2 separate regions of the Homo sapiens genome follow, and region 2 is linked to region 1. Evidence: promoter capture Hi-C in 16 types of primary human blood cells and fetal thymus (Javierre and others, 2016). All regions are on one chromosome and are shown on one strand. The core of a region is centred on a gene start or on the middle of the fragment in contact, and the rest is flanking DNA. Distances in the headings are between cores, read along the strand shown. Region 1 holds the start of TRAPPC6B (trafficking protein particle complex subunit 6B). Region 2 holds the start of RPS29 (ribosomal protein S29).

Region 1 (3,391 bases), core at 363-2,862:
AAGGCCTACAGAATTCCACTTTCTAACTTTCAAATCTGTTATCTCCTTTTCTCACTATCCCTGTCTTAATCCAGATCTTCATCTCCTCCTGCAGTGACTCCCGTAATAAAGGATTTTCCCCCTACAAGGATCTTCCCTCTCTAGCCCAAACACTGGATTACTTTTCTAAAATGCAAATGGTCCACATCATTCCCTTCCTTAAAAATATTCCCTCGAAAAGATCCGAATTCTTTAATTACACAAAGCTTTCTAACTTCACCTCTCAATTCTTCTCACTCTCTATTCAGTCTAGTCCAAAGAAATGCTTAAGTGTATTTAAATCCACCACTCTTTCATACCTCTACCACTTTATCTTTGCCTAGGATACATTTCCTATCCCCACTCTCCACTCATTTTTTATCAATAGCATTAAAGAAAGGGCTCCTGACTTGAGCATGACTTTGGAGTATTTCTAAAATCCGTTACAACTCCATGATTCTACCAGCCAATACTCAGTGTTAACTATTCATTAAATCACTATTCCCTAAATACTGTGAGGCAGGAGTATTATTTTATTTAATTTATCTAGCAGTGTCAGCAGTGACAGGCCCACAATGATTGAATAAGGACTCCCACATATTAGAAGTAACCGCTACATACTATCACATTTCGGATTAAATTAGATTAAAAAAAAATCTCTACAAGGATGGGGCCATTGTTTCATTCACTACTATATCCCTGGCACCTAGAAATCGCTCTGACATAAGGGCACTAAATAAATACTTTCTGAAATAATTAATTTAAATTATGTTCCCTAATTATCCTAACGCCTGCAAACTTTCCTTTGCAAACTCAACCTTCATTAGGCTTCAGGTCTCAAGTTGTGTGGAGTTGTACTGAGCATTAGGAATGAGGAAGGAGGGACAGGCTTCTCAGGTTGGCACAGGTCTGTCCAGTGCATGGCTCAAGTGCTGGAAGTGCCAGCAAAACTAAGTAGGCTCTGCAGTTAACCCTCTCGTAAATAATGGCAGGGACAACACTAAAAGTACCAAAATCTGTGGCGTGCAAGACAAACGTACGGGAATAGACAAAAGAGAATCAAATAGAAGAAGATACGAAAGAGAAAACGATGAAAGATGACGGTTCAAAGGAGACAACTGACAGGTTCTAGGGTTTAGGACACCTGGAGGTGGACCATTTTGTGTACACCTCGGGAGGCGTCGGGTGGCGATGGGACAGGGGTTGAAGGAAAGCACTGAGGGGAAACAAGGTGTGTCACCGCAAAAGGACCTCAAGGTTGTGTGGCAGCACTCACCACCTCCCCCTGCTCCGCGGACTTGTACACTCCAGACACCATCTCGTTATGGAGAAGCAAAAACAACGCCTCATCCGCCATTTCCTGCTAATTCTTCCAAGCTTCGAGTTTTGGCTCCCGTTTGAGCTGGTCTGGGGGTTCCAGCTCGCGCCTCAGCGACTTCGCCGGCGCCGCGGCTCCGTCAGGCCGCCATTCTATCCCTGTGGCTAAGAGACCGAGGTATTCACACGACTTCCCAAAGGCTGGTACTGAAATGAGTCTGGTACTGGAGAGAGCCCACACTTCGGGGCTACCAAATCCTAGGGCCGAACTAAAGTCTGACGGGAGCTCTAACCAAAGCCAACCAGCTGAGATGCGATCCGGCCGCTGGGCGGGGGCGAAAAAAACAACTTCCGGTCCCCTCTACCCCGGCATTCGGCCAGCTCTATGATCACTGAGTTCCTCTCTCCCAAGCCCGGAGAGGCCAGCGCCCAGATATGAGGAAGGTTCCCCTCTCACCACGATGTCGGGGGCAGAGCAAGATAAAATAAGACCTAAAGCTCCCGCCTGGCCCGGGCGCGGTGGCTCACGCCTGTAATCCCAGCACTTTGGGTGGCGGAGGCGGGTGGATCACATGAGGTCGGAAGTTCGAACCAGCCTGAGAAACCCCGTCTCTACTATAAGTACAAAATTAGCGGGGCCTGGTGGTGCATGCCTGTAATCCCAGCTACTCGGGAGTCTGAGGCAGGAGAATCGCTTGAACTCGGGAGGCGGAGGTTGCGGTGAGCTGAGATCGCGCCACTGCACTCCAGCCTGGGCAACAAGAGTGAAACTCCGTCTCAAAAAAAAAAAAAAAAAAAGAGCTCCCGCGGCCACCTCCTTGTTAATTAGCAATAGAAGTTAAAAAAATTCTTTTGGCTTCATCAAAAGCATCCACTTCCTGCCATATGTTCTTCAAATATGAAAAGTTGTAGAAAGAGTTTAAAATATACGTTTTCACAGTGCAAATTTTTTAAATATTGAAAAGTTATCCCAATTCCTATTGAATTAAGCCCGGGTATACAAAAAGAATTAGAGCCATTTTGACCACCAGGAATTTTCCTGTTAGTGGGGTGCAAGGGACAAGGGAAGTGGAGCAAACGAAAAACAAGATACACTTGAACCGGAAAATACAGACTAATCAGAGGATTAGGTGAAAAGTGCTATAGAATTCAGAAAAGCGATGTCACTGCAGGATGGAGTTGCTAATAATCTACAGCAGTGTGAGACAACTGTAGGAATTGTCCCACTGCATGTGCAAATAAATACACATGCTACATCATAGTATGTACATCTTAAATTTGGCAAATTCAACCGTAAGCATGTTGCTTAGCCTGTGATTAGTTCTTCCATTGGTAATTCACAAAACAAAATTTTTCCCCAATTGTCCCTGTTGTTTTCCCCCAAATTAACATACCGCAAGGTGGCTCATGCCTGTAAAATCCAGCACTTTGGGAGGCCGAGGCACGGGGGGTGGGGGGGATCACGAGGTCATGAGTTTTGAGAGCAGCCTGGCCAACATGGTGAAAACCCGTCTCCACTAAAAATACAAAAATTAGCCGGGCGTGGTGACAGGTGCCTGTAATCCCAGCTACTCGGGGGGCTGAGGCAGGAGAATCACTTGAACCTGGGAGGCAGAGGTTGCAGCGAGCAGAAATTGTGCCACTGCACTCCAGCCTGGGCGACAGAGCAAGACTTCGTCTCAAAAAACGAAACACACACACAAACTCTTCATGCCCTTTCACAGGAATTTAAGATCATGTTCCAAAATTTTAATTGTGGTAGGTTTTTTTTTTAAGCATGTCCCTTCTAATGTTTGAATCAGTTTATTCCATTCATCACGTAAATCCAGCATAAAAGCTCCACTTAAGCCTTTGAAAACACTAAATTGTGTAATTTTGAAGAGTATTTTGCCATGGTAATCTTAATTTTTCCAGCACTAAATTTTCAGTTATGCGAAATCAGGTCCTTTATGTCTAGATGACATTCTTGCCCTCATCACTACCATCAAGAAAAAGGAGTCCAAGTCCACCACACAAGTCAAAAAGTAAGTAAATGGCCAATTTATCAAAGTTGACT
Region 2 (3,248 bases), core at 66-2,565, about 10 Mb after region 1:
GACGCTTTCAAACATTTTGGGTTGGCCGGGCGCGGTGGCTCACGCCTGTAATCTCAGCACTTTGGGAGGCCGAAGCAGGCGGATCACGAGGTCAGCAGTTCGAGACCAGCCTGACCAACATGGTAAAACCCCGTCTCTACTAAAAATAAAAAAATTAGCCGGACATGGTGGCAGGCGCCTGTAATCCCAGCTATTCAGGAGGCTGAGGCAGGAGAATCGCTTGAACCGGGGAGGCGGAGGTTGCACTGAGCGGAGATCACGCCATCGCACTCCAGGTTGGGTGAGTGCGACTCCGACTCAAAAAAAAAAAAAAAAAAACTTGGGGTCAGCGGTTAATACATATATTTGGTTAGAAAATATCTAGGTACAGCCGCGCGTGGTGGCAAGAGCCTTTAGTCCCAGCTACTCGGGACGCCAAGGCAAGAGGATCGCCTGAGACCAGGAGGAGTTCGAGGCTGCAGTGAGCCGTAACAACGCCACTGCACTTCAACCTGGGCGACAGAGGGAGACCCTATCTCTAAAAAAAAAAAAAAGAGAATAGGTACTTACAAGATTGATAAATGAAACAAATGTAAAACAATTTTAGTGGCTTCTCTAAAGTGAATTTCACCAAACACAATACACGGCACCTAAAACTGGCTAAGCTATCTAGGTAAAAAAGGGAGTAGGAAAGACTAAGTCCTTCACCTTCTCCATTCTATTAATTTGATTGCCCAAACCATCAACACTGTCACCAGCTACCAACTAAAAAAAGAGGAAAAGCTCTTGGTCGAATGCTCAGAATTACCACTCCAGGGAAGATCTGTCCGTTTGTCTTTCGCGGAAAAAATAACCCCCACAACCTTCTCTGCCCAAACAACATGGAGTACGCCTGCAGACGCCTACCTTAATGAAACCGATATCCTTCGCGTACTGACGGAAACACTGGCGGCACATATTGAGGCCATATTTCCGGATCAGACCGTGCCGGTTTGAACAGACACGACTGTAAGAAAAGAGACAGCGGTTTTGCAGGTCATAGAAATTACAAGACTCCGCACTCAGACGGCTACTACCCGCATCCCGGGACTCCCAAGCCACAGTACAGGCCTGTAATGGCGGCACCAGCGACTCCCAGTCGGCGTGCTCCCTCGTGCCGCCCGTGGCCTCCTCTACTTGAGATTTTAAGCAGCCTAGCGCTCCACGGCAACGCTTCCCCAAAATCACAAACTATTTCTCACCAAGAGCGAGAACCCTGGCCGAATTTTCGCGGGTGGCTCCAGTACAGCTGCTGGTGACCCATCTTGCTCTCAGCAGTGCAACGAGGTAAAAGGAAGAAGCTGGCCCACGCATGCGCTCTTCAAATTTTTGAGACAGTTTACCCAGAATGCAGTGCTCAAAGGAAACGCGTGCGCAGTGTGGTCAGGTTGTTTCGCTGGGTGAGTAAAATGAAATCTTAGAGGCGTTGTGGGCTGGCCCAGTTGATGACGTCACCATACCACAGCTTCTAGTGCTATTCTGCGCCGGTATCCGACCGCCGGGCGCGGTGGCGCGTGCCTGTAGTCCCAGCTACTCGGGAGGCTGAGGCTGGAGGATCGCTTGAGTCCAGGAGTTCTGGGCTGTAGTGCGCTATGCCGATCGGGTGTCCGCACTAAGTTCGGCATCAATATGGTGACCTCCCGGGAGCGGGGGACCACCAGGTTGCCTAAGGAGGGGTGAACCGGCCCAGGTCGGAAACGGAGCAGGTCAAAACTCCCGTGCTGATCAGTAGTGGGATCGCGCCTGTGAATAGCCACTGCACTCCAGCCTGGGCAACATAGCGAGACCCCGTCTCTTTTGAACAATAAATACGTTAATTTTGGACTCTCAAGAGATGAATATTCTCATAGTCTTTTTTATTGATTAAACCTTTTACTTTCTTTTAATTAAAACGTTACACTTGGGAAAGGAGTTTTTCCTCGACTCACCAGTGACACCTACTGGAATAAATTTACAAAACAACTTAAAATCAGCTGTAATGATCACGAGTCAACGGTAGGGTTTGCTTTTATTTTGTTAAAGAGAGTACGTTTTCAAATTTATTTTTTTGACACACTCCTCCAAGAAATACACCTACACCATTCCAAAAAAAAATGAGATTCTTTGGCATTTAGTGTATTTGATTCTTAAATGTAATTGGCTGAATGTAAAGTAATAAACAAGTAATGTGCAGTGTATGTTGCTTTGACCAGATAATTTGGTGACAAAACAAGTAATGAAAAGCAAATGCAAAAATGCAAAAAACCAATGTCAATAAACGAATTTCTGCTGAAAGATACCTACATTCCATATGGTCATTTATAATGCCTCCAGATAAAACTGCTCTGAAATCAAAGCTTTAACTAGATTTATAAAATGTAGCACAGGGTGCAACAATTCCAGAAACTTTTACATATAAACTTTTATAAATTGAAATACAACACTTCTTTAAGGTATGTTATGTCAGGGTTCTAGTGGGGTCCCCCTACCCAATCATTAAGTTAGGCATTGTATTATATGATTAAGGAAGGAGGGGAGTCAGAGATTTGTAAACTAGATATAACTTGCTCCTTGCCCTCAAAATTTTCTAATCTGTGGGAAACAGGATTATCTCCAAGACTTCAACATACAACGTTTGTGCACCAACAACATATGTACAGCTAAGGAAAATATTCTGTATTAAATCATGGGTGTGCTCATGAAGTACGAAAGGAGCCAAGAAGAGAAATTAATTCCAGTTCGAGGTACATTTGAGAGACCTTTGAGGTAGACCTTGAAGAATGGGATTTCTACAGGCAGCACTTGACAGAAGGGAATGCCTGGTGAAAGGAAGCGCTTGAGCCAAGGTAAGGTGAACAACTTTGTGTAACTAGAATAGAAGATGGACAAAAGGCCTAGTGATAGGAATGAAAAGGTATTTTATTTTAAAGCCTCATTGGGCAAGATCCAATGTCAAGCTTTTACAACTTTCCTATAATTTATATCAGTCACTAATGTGTGGTTTCCAAAAGCCATTTGCCTCTCAAAAGCTAATCTAACATTTGTCCACACTTTCTTAGGCCTCTTCTAGTTGGTCTCCACAATATTTAAAACATTACAGTGGTTCTGAGATCAATTCCATTAATATTTTTAGTACTCTGATATATAAGCCTTTGGGCCTAAAGAAGTGAATTCATTTAGGAGAGAAAAAAAGACAAATGAGAAGCAATTAGTTGCACTTCAACAATCTTAATCTGAATACTTAAGTAATT

The links. The method cuts DNA at HindIII sites, captures the fragments that hold promoters and counts their contacts. A CHiCAGO score of 5 or more calls a contact.
Region 2: the fragment with the promoter of RPS29 here is called in contact with the fragment with the promoter of TRAPPC6B in region 1 in 1 of 17 cell types (total B cells); the score reaches 6.7 in total B cells.

Annotation. Positions count from the first base shown.
Region 1 is chr14:39,168,721-39,172,111 of GRCh38, forward strand. It overlaps TRAPPC6B (trafficking protein particle complex subunit 6B), which reads right to left and starts at 1,613. Exons shown (of 6, transcript NM_001079537.2): 1 at 1,295-1,613. The coding sequence starts at 1,375. RefSeq lists enhancers at 1,071-1,660, 1,420-1,469, 2,251-2,840. The HindIII fragment of the contact is 6,900 bases long and covers 1,394-3,391 here.
Region 2 is chr14:49,585,065-49,588,312 of GRCh38, forward strand. RPS29 (ribosomal protein S29) reads right to left here and starts at 1,316. Exons shown (of 3, transcript NM_001032.5): 1 at 1,221-1,316; 2 at 886-985. The coding sequence starts at 1,282. It also overlaps RN7SL1. RefSeq lists enhancers at 347-396, 995-1,494, 1,367-1,876. The HindIII fragment of the contact is 6,928 bases long and covers 1-2,352 here.